2 separate regions of the Homo sapiens genome follow, and region 2 is linked to region 1. Evidence: promoter capture Hi-C in 16 types of primary human blood cells and fetal thymus (Javierre and others, 2016). All regions are on one chromosome and are shown on one strand. The core of a region is centred on a gene start or on the middle of the fragment in contact, and the rest is flanking DNA. Distances in the headings are between cores, read along the strand shown. Region 1 holds the start of LMOD3 (leiomodin 3). Region 2 has its middle 100 kb from the start of MITF.

Region 1 (4,784 bases), core at 754-3,253:
GTGTGATCTCAGCTCACTGCAGCCTCTGCCTCCCAGGTTCAGGTGATTCTCTGCCTCAGCTTCCCGGGTAGCTGGGGCTACAGGTGCCTGCTACCACGCCTGGCTAATTTTTGTATTTTTAGTAGAGATAGAGTTTTGCTATATTGGCCAGGCTGGTCTTGAACTCCTGACCTCAGGTGATCTGCCCGCCTCGGCCTCCCAAAGTGCTGGGATTACAGGCATGAGCACGGCGCCCGGCCAACATGTATAGTATTTGTAAATATTTAATATAAGTAGATTGGAGATGGGTCCTAGTAGGTTGGTGCAAAAGTAATTGTGATTTTTGCTGTTACTTTAATCTACATATAAAAAGTATTTAATTTCTTCGTATTCTGTGACCTAGCAATTTCACTTTTTAGAATTTGTTCAATTTACTCTAAAGAAATAAACTTGTGTGTTTATAAACTATTTAGGTATAGGGATATTTATTAAAGAACTATTTGTGCTTGTGAGAATTGAAAACATTCTAAATATCCAACAATTGAGGATTGGTTATACAAATTATGGTACATCCATATAAAGAATCCTAACAGAGGGCAATAAAAAATTATTTAGTAGTAGAGTACACAGTTGCCTAGAAAAAAAGAATCCTGACTTTCTCAGTCAAAAAAACAGATGAGAAAAAATGATAGAGTTTGTATGCCTAAAAGAAAGGACTGGAATGAAAAAACTGAAATGTTAATAGTGGTAGCTTCACAGTGAGGTAAGGGGAAGATTTTGTTCTGTGCCTTTCTATGTTATCCTAACTCTTGTACAATGAATGTATATTTCGGAATAAGAATATATTTACGAGCCAGGCACGGTGGCTCACGCCTGTAATCCCAGAACTTTGGGACACCGAGGCAGGTGGATTGCTTGAACTCAGAAATTCGAGACCAGCCTGAGCAATATGGCAAAACCCTGTCTCTACAAAAAATACAATTAGCTGGGTGTAGTGGTGCATGCCTGTGGTCCCAGCTTGATCCTGGGAGGCAGAGGTTGCAGTGAGCTGAGATCGCAGCACTGCCCTCCAGCCTGGGTGACAGAGCCAGACCCTGTCTTAAATATATATATAATAAAACTTGTATATTATATATTATTGTACCCTTTGTCACACAAATAATGGCATGTAAAACACACTGTTTTGTACTTTGCTATATTGTGTAACCTTGTACACACGTTGTTTCACCCATGTAGGGGTATATCTGTAGGATACACTTCTCAAAGTGGAATTGCTGGGTCAAAGGAAATGGGCATTTGTAATTTGGACAAATGTTGCATATTGCCCCTTCAGGGTTTGAAAACAAAATCTTCTCATAGTTTCTTTTAGTATATTAGTGGTCTGGATTTCTTTTTTAACACTTCACTTTAGAGCCATTTTCATTGATATTGGCTTAATGGATACTTAATAAGAAAAGCAAATAATTTAAAATATTAAACTCACTTATAGTGGAAATCCAAGTGCTGGTTGTCCCCATCTGTTAGATCACAGGATCTAGATGCAAACAGGACATCTTGCAAAGGTTCGGCTTACACAGAGGATGAGTGACATAGCAAGACCTCTGTTCCACTGTGCACCACTTTATTTGCTTCCACACTCACCTTGTAGGGAAGAGGCAGACCCTAAGAGCTTGATTTCTACCTTCAAGTGAATTCTTTACTTCAGAAACAACTCAGGTTGCTGGTTGGATTTCCCTTCTGAAATATTGTAAGTTGCTTTAATATTTAAATAAAAACAAGTGGAATCCCCTGGAGTATTGGGGTATGTATGTATGAGCTGCATGAATTTGTGTATGGCAATATGATGGCATATAGGAAGATAATTAATTTTATTCCTGCAGAGATTCTGTAGTCTCTGCTAGTCTCTGGCAAACATAGCAGCTGTACTGAAATGTCAGATGGATTTGCGCAGCTGACTCAAGTTGCCAAAAAGAGAGCAGCATAGTTGTTCCATAAATTGACCCCATCCAGCCAAGCCCTGCTTAATATAGATCCGGCAAGAGCTTAGCTGTGATCACTCCTAGCTGCTCAGCAAACCACTGAGGTTCCTGGGAAAAAAAAAAAAATATCTCAAGGGTGTGTTAACTTGGGACACTCGTTAACTGGGGGACCTTCTTGAGGCTTTTTTCCTTCTTTTTAAAAATCATCTTTGATTATTCTTCTTTTCTAGTAAAATAATATTTAGAAAAAATAATGTCAGAGCACAGCAGAAATTCAGATCAAGAAGAACTTCTCGATGAGGAGATTAATGAAGATGAAATCTTGGCCAACTTGTCTGCTGAAGAACTGAAAGAACTGCAGTCGGAAATGGAAGTCATGGCCCCTGACCCCAGCCTTCCCGTGGGAATGATTCAGAAAGATCAAACTGACAAGCCACCGACAGGAAACTTCAATCATAAATCTCTTGTTGATTATATGTATTGGGAAAAGGCATCCAGGCGCATGCTGGAAGAGGAACGAGTTCCTGTCACCTTTGTGAAATCCGAGGTAACCAGAGATTTGTGTACAACCGAGAAATGGCTGCCTGGGATGGGCTGTTAGGTCTCTCTGTTGTAACTGTGATTTCTCAAGACTCCAGGGTTTGGTTCTGCTTTGTTTTTGCCATATCTAGATTAAACCATAATATTTAATCCTACTCCGACTGGAACTTTCTGAAACACATTTATATTTACAAGGGGAAAATTGGGTAATTTCTTGCAAATGTCTCTTTTTAAAAATTGCTGTCGGGTTTGCTGTGTCAGAAAGCCTGTGTTCTATTGCCACGATACTTAGTGACTTAACTCATAACCCAGAGGCAGTTGTCCTTACCTCTCTCTTTCTTTTTTATTGCAGGCCCCTTTGAGAAAGTAATGACAGCTCTGTAGCCTCTGTCTCTCTGGCACATCCAAACATACGCAGTGTTTCGCACACAGTGTCAAACATTTCAGTCCTCCTGAAGTCTGGCCACACAACCTGCAATTAAACCAAGTCGAATAACCAGAAAATGTCTTATATTATTACTATGTATTGGCTGTCAGTGATGACATTTAGAAATCGATGGCTATTAAGTGGTTTTGAAGCTAGTTCTTCACTTTCTAAAACCTGAAAGCTAGAATTGTTAACTCTGCAAACTTACTGTGCATGAGCATAATTTTTTTTTTTATGTTCCACTTGAAAATGACTTAACAAAAAGAGGACAGAGATGCCTCCTAGGTAAAGTCTCTTTAGGTTATGCCTGTTTACAAAGATACATCTTGTTAAATTACTCTGAAGCTGGCTGTAATTAAGGAAAGTTGTCAATTGGTTTTACAGTCAGTAGAGTTTAAACATGTGCTAAGATTAAGAAAAGAAACAGCTGGATTGATCAGGTTAGAGTTCAAGGTACAATTTGCAGATTTTTTACAACTGGAGATCAATGGATGAAAAGCCAATTCTATGTGAATGCCAGTTTCAGGGGGTAAAAACGAGTACTTGCAACATGTTTTTCCTTCCTCTGGTATAACTTGAACAGCTTGATGGTTGGCTCCCCCTTCTGGTCAAGGTGAGAAATGCAGTGGTGAAGACTTCAGGTGGTTAAGGTGACTTGTCACTGTCTCTTCTGACCTATGTTATGAGCATGAAATTTTTGCTCAAATGAACCTGTGTCTCAACTTGCTATACTGGCTTTCAAAATGATATCTATGAGGCCCACAAGTTGCATAGAAAAGCATTATAATTGATGTGCAAGAATCTAATACATATTATTGATAAAAGGCCCATTTTATTTCCCAGACTAAGCAATTATTTCTCAATGTCTGCATAATCCTGTTTCATCTTACAGCTGGCCCTGGTTCCTAGGCACTTTCTTTCACAAGAAACTGGGATAGTAAACTTGTCCTAGACAGAGTATCATGGCAGTTGTCAAAGAACTGAAAAAATAGAATCAAAATTGAGGTTTTAAATATATATATGTATATATATATATTCAAAATCAAAATTGAGGTTTTTAAATATATATATATTCCAAAATGTCAAACGTATCTAATTTCCCATACATTATGTTATGTTCTCAGAGGAAGTTCATGTACATTCTATACTAGATTAGTAGACATTGTAGGGATGTTAATTTTAGGGCAATAATTTCCTTATTCTAATATATTTATAGTATCACATTTATAATATATTGGAATAATAAGGAAATTATTGCCCTAACTCAGGACTGTTGGGTACTAGATGCCTATTTGGTAGATACAAAATCAAAGCTTCAGTGTATCGATGAACAATTCTATGAGGTTTTCAAAACAATTTTTAACTGCTTCTGAAATTAAACACCATTAAAAAGTACAGAATATTAAAATTAATAAGGTTTCCTTTTAATACTCATTTTAATTTATGGGATAGAATAACCACCCATTTTTAGCAATCAGCTATTTAAATAAGGATTATTTAAAATAGCAACCAGCTCTTTTAAATAAGCATTTTTATTATCTCCACTAGCTGATGCTCCACTTCATATTTCTTCTCTGCTATGTATTCTAACCCTCATAAACCTCTCTTGTAGGAAAAGACTCAAGAAGAGCATGAAGAAATAGAAAAACGTAATAAAAATATGGCCCAGTATTTAAAAGAAAAGCTCAATAATGAAATAGTTGCAAATAAAAGAGAATCAAAGGGCAGCAGCAATATCCAAGAAACAGATGAAGAAGATGAAGAAGAAGAAGATGATGATGATGACGACGAAGGAGAAGATGATGGTGAAGAGAGTGAAGAAACGAACAGAGAAGAGGAAGGCAAAGCAAAGGAACAAA
Region 2 (4,784 bases), core at 885-3,384, 520 kb before region 1:
ATTTACACTTCTCTAATGATTAGTGATATTGAGCTTTTTCATATGTTTGTTGGCTGCATGTATGTCTTCTTTTGAAAAGTATTTATTCATGTCCTTTGCCCACTTTTTCATGTGGTTGTTTTCTATTGTAAATTTGTTTAAGTTCCTTATAGATGCTGATAGATCCTGGAATTAAACCTTTGTCAGATGCATAGTTTGGAAATATTTTCTCCTATTCTGTAGGTTGTATGTTTATTTATTCATTTATTTATTTATTTTTTATTTTTTGAGGCAGACTCTCTCTCTGTCACCCAGGCTGGAGTGCAGTGGCGCCATCTTGGCTAATTGCAACCTCTGCCTCCTGGGTTCAAGTGATTCTCGTTCCTCAGCCTCCTGAGTAGCTGAGACCACAGGCGTGTGCCACCATGCCGAGCTAAATTTTTGGTATTTTTAGTAGAGACGGGGTTTTAACATATTAGCCAGGCTGGTCTCAAACTTCTGGCCTCAAGTGATCTGCCTGCCTCAGCCTCCCAAACTGCTGGGATTACAGGCATGAGCCACTGCGCCTGGCTGTTTATCTGTTTATTATGTTGATAGTTTCTTGTGCTGTGTCAAAGTTCTTTAGTTTAATTAGATCCCATTTGTCAATTTTTGCTTTTGTTGCAATTGCTTTTGGTCTCTTTGTCATGAAATCTTTGCCAGTTTCTATGTCCAGAATAGTATTTCCTAGGTTATCTTCCGAGGTTTTTATAGTTTTAGGTTCTCCATTTAATTCTTTAATCCATTTTGAGTTGAGTTTTGTATATAGTATAAGGAAGGGGTCCCGTTTCAATCTTCTGCATATTGCTAGACGTTTATGCCCGCACTATTTATTGAATAGAGAGTCCTTTTCACCCTGGCTTGTTATTGTCAGCTTTGTTGTAGATGTGTGGCATTATTTTGGGGCTCTCTATTCTGCTCCATTGGTCTATGTGTCTGTGTTTGTACCAGTATCATTCTGTTTTGGTTATTGTAGCCCTGTAATATAATTTGAAGTTGGGTAACATGATGCTTCCTGCTTTATTCTTGCTTAGGAATATCTTGACTATTTGGGATCTTTTTTGGTTCTATATGAATTTTTTTTTTTTTTTTAGACGGAGTCTCACTCTGTTGCCAGGCTGGAGTGCAGTGGCACGATGTCGGCTCACTGCAACCTCCACCTCCCCGGTTCAAGCGATTCTCCCACCTCAGCCTCCTGAGTAGCTGGGATAACAGGCACGTGAAACCACACCCAGCTAATTTTTGTATTTTCAGTAGAGATGGGGTTTCACCATGTTGGCCAGGATGGTCTTGATCTCCTGACCTCATGATCCACTCACCTCAGCCTCCCAAAGTGCTGGGATTACAGGCATGAGCCACCGCACCGGGCCAGTTCCATATGAACTTTTTAACAGCTTTTCCTATTTTTTTTGAAAAATGTAATTGGTAGTTTGATAGGAATAGCATTGACTCTATAAATTGCTTTGTGCAGTATGGCCATTTTAACAATATTGATTCTCTTTATCCATGAGCATAGAATGTTTTTCCATTTGCTTCTGTAGTATCTTAATTCTTTCAACAGTGCTCTGTAATTTTCATTGTAGAGATCTCTCACTTTCTGGTTAGCAGTATCCCTAGGTATTTTATTCTTTTTGTGGCAATTGTGACTGGAATCTCATTCCTGATTTGGCTCTTGGCTTGAATGTCATTGGGGGTTAAGAATGCTACTGATTTTTGTCTGTTTATTTTGTATCCTGAAACTTTGCTGACGTTGCTTATTAGTTCAATGAGCTTTTTTGGCAGAGACTATGGGGTTTTCTAGGTATAGAATCATGTCATCTGCAAACAGGGATAGTTTGACTTATTCTTTTCCTATCTGGATGCCTTCTATTTCTTTCTCTTGCCTGATTGTTCTGGCCAGGACTTCCAAAACTGTGTTGAATAGAATACTCTTACTTCTTTCCCCATCCAGGCTTTTAATGCTAGTGATGTTTTGTAACTCCCAGAAAGATGCTAAAAATCAATAAAACTTTCTGTTGTATTAGTTGCCCTGATTTGCAAGTATATACTATGTCTGATGTTCAAGTCTTGTTGTAAACAGGATACAATGGAATTATTTATCCCACGATAAGCGATAGTCACCATGGTGGTTAATTTTATGTGTCAACTTGATTGTGCCATTGGGTGCCCAGATATTTAGTTAAACATTATTCTGTGTGTGTTTATAAAGGTGTTTGTGAATGAGATTAACATTTGACTTGGTGGACGGAGAAAAGTAAATTGCCCAACCCAATGTGGGTGAGCCTCATCCAATCTGTTGAAGGCCTGATTAGAACAAAAGGCAGAGTAGGGAGAATCTCCTCTTTCTGCCTAACTGTCTTCAGGCTGAGACATTGATCTCCTGCCTTCAAACTTGGACTCAGATTGTAATTTACACATTTGGCTCTTCTGCTTCTCAGGCCCTTGGACTTGGACTACAACTATACCATCAGCTCTCTTAGGTCTCCAGATTGCCAACTACAGCATCCATAACTGTGTGAGCCAATTTCTTATAATCTCTTTCTACACACACACACACACACACACACACTCACACACACCACATACACATCCTATTGGTTGTTTTTCTGGAGAACTTTGGCTAATACAGTTACCATCTAACTCATGCTATTTTAAAGAAAAGACAGTGAAATGTTGTTTCTTTCAAATTAAGTAATGGTTGCAAAGATTAACACTAAAATATTTAATTGCTTCAAATGTCTTTGTTTAAAATACATACTAGGAAGCCCTAGCCAAAGTAATTTGTCAAGAGGAAGAAATTAAAGGCATCAAGATAGGAAGAGGGGAAGTCAAACTATCTCTCTTTGCAGATGATGTGATTCTATACCTAGAAAACCCCTTAGTCTCTGTCCCAAAATTTCTAGAACTGATAAACAACTTCAGTAAAGTTTCAGGATGCAAAATCAATATACAAAACTCAGGAACATTTCCATACACCAATAACTCCAAGCTGAGAGCCAAATTCACAATAGCCACAGACACACAAAAATTAGTTAGGAATACAGTTGACCAGGGAGGTGAAAGATCTCTACAATGAAAATTATAAAACACCACTGAAAGAAATCAGAGATGACACAAACAAATGGAAAAACAGTCTATGCTCATGGACAGGAGAAATTAATATTGTTAAAATGGGCATATTGCCCAAAGCAATTTATAGATTCCATACAATTTCCATTAAACTACCAATGTAATTTTCACAGATTTAGAAAAAGCTATTCTAAATTTATATGAAAGAAACAAAGAGAACAAAATAGTCAAGGCAATCCTAAGCAAAAAGAACAAAGCCAGAGGCATCACACTACCTGACTTCAAACTATAGGGTTACAGTAATCAAAACAGCATGTTACTGGTACAGAAACAGACACATAGACCAAGGAAACAGAATAGAGAATGCAGAAATAATGCCACACATCTACAACCATCTGATCTTTGACAAAGCTGACAATAACAAGCAATGGGAAAAGGATTCCCTATTCAATAAATGCTGCTGGCATAACTGTCTAGCCATATGCAGAAGATTGAAACTGTACCCTTCCTTTCACCATATACAAAAATCAACTCAAAATGGATTAAATACTTAAATGTAAGACCTAAAACTATTTAAACCCTAGGAGAAAAACCTAGGAAATACTATTCTGGACATATTAGGCCTTGGCAAAGATTTCATGATGAAGTCTCTAAAAGCAACTGCAAGAAAAACAAAAATAGACAAGTGAGACCTAATTAAATTAAAGAGCTCCTGCACAGCAAAACAAACTATCAATAGAGTAAACAGATAGACTACAGAATGGGAGAAAATACTCAAAAACTATGCATCCAACAAAGGTCTAATATTCAGAATCTATAAGCAACTCAAACAAATCAGCAAGTAAAAGCAAACAGCCTCATTATAAAATCGGCATAGGACATGAACGGACACTTCTCAAAAGAAGACATACACAAAACCAACAAGCATATGGAAAAATGCTCAATATCACTGAACATTAGAGAAAAGCAAATCAAAACCACACAGAGATACCACCTCACACCAGTCAGAATGACTAATCACTAAAAAGTTAAAAAATAACAGGTGTTGGTGAGGTTGAGGATAAAAGGGAATATTTATACACTGCTAGTGTGAATGTAAATCAGTTCAGCCACTGTGGAAAGCAGTTTGGAGATTTGTCAAAAAACTTAGAACTGTTGTTTGACCCAGCAATCTCATTACTGGGTCAAGGATTATAATATAAAGGAATATAAATCATTCTATGAAAAAGGCACATATGCACACTTCCAAGATGGCTGAATAGGAACAGCTCTAGTCTGCAGCTCCCAGCAAGATCTACACAGAAGATGGGTGATTTCCTCATTTCCAACTGAGGTACCTGGTTCATCTCACTGGAACTGGTTGGACACTGGGTGCAGCCAACGGAGGATGAGCCGAAGCAAGGCAGGGTGGGTGTCGCCTCACCTGGGAAGTGCAAGGGGTCGGGGGATTTCCCTTTCCTAGCCAAGGGAAGCCATGACAGACTGTACCAGGAAAAATGGTACACTCCCACCCGAATACTGTGCTTTGCCCACAGTCTTAGCAACTGGCAGACCAGGAGATTCTCTCTTGTGCTTGGCTCAGCAGGTCCCATGCCTACGGAGCCTTGCTCGCTGCTAGCAGAGCAGTTTGAGATTGACCTGTGAGGCTGCAGCCTGGTGGGGGGAGAGGCATCTGCCATTGCTGAGGCTTGAGTAGG

What was found. Contacts are between HindIII fragments. The CHiCAGO score rates a contact against its expected background, and 5 or more counts as called.
Region 2: a fragment that was not itself captured here is called in contact with the fragment with the promoter of LMOD3 in region 1 in 1 of 17 cell types (M2 macrophages); the score reaches 5.5 in M2 macrophages.

What each region holds. Positions count from the first base shown.
Region 1 is chr3:69,119,814-69,124,597 of GRCh38, reverse strand. LMOD3 (leiomodin 3) reads left to right here and starts at 2,003. Exons shown (of 3, transcript NM_198271.5): 1 at 2,003-2,505; 2 at 4,538-4,784. The coding sequence starts at 2,212. RefSeq lists an enhancer at 1,949-3,148. The HindIII fragment of the contact is 5,880 bases long and covers 1-4,240 here.
Region 2 is chr3:69,637,031-69,641,814 of GRCh38, reverse strand. No RefSeq gene overlaps it. Among named protein-coding and RNA genes, the nearest start is that of MITF, 100 kb to the left of the region's middle. The HindIII fragment of the contact is 5,935 bases long and covers 1-4,784 here.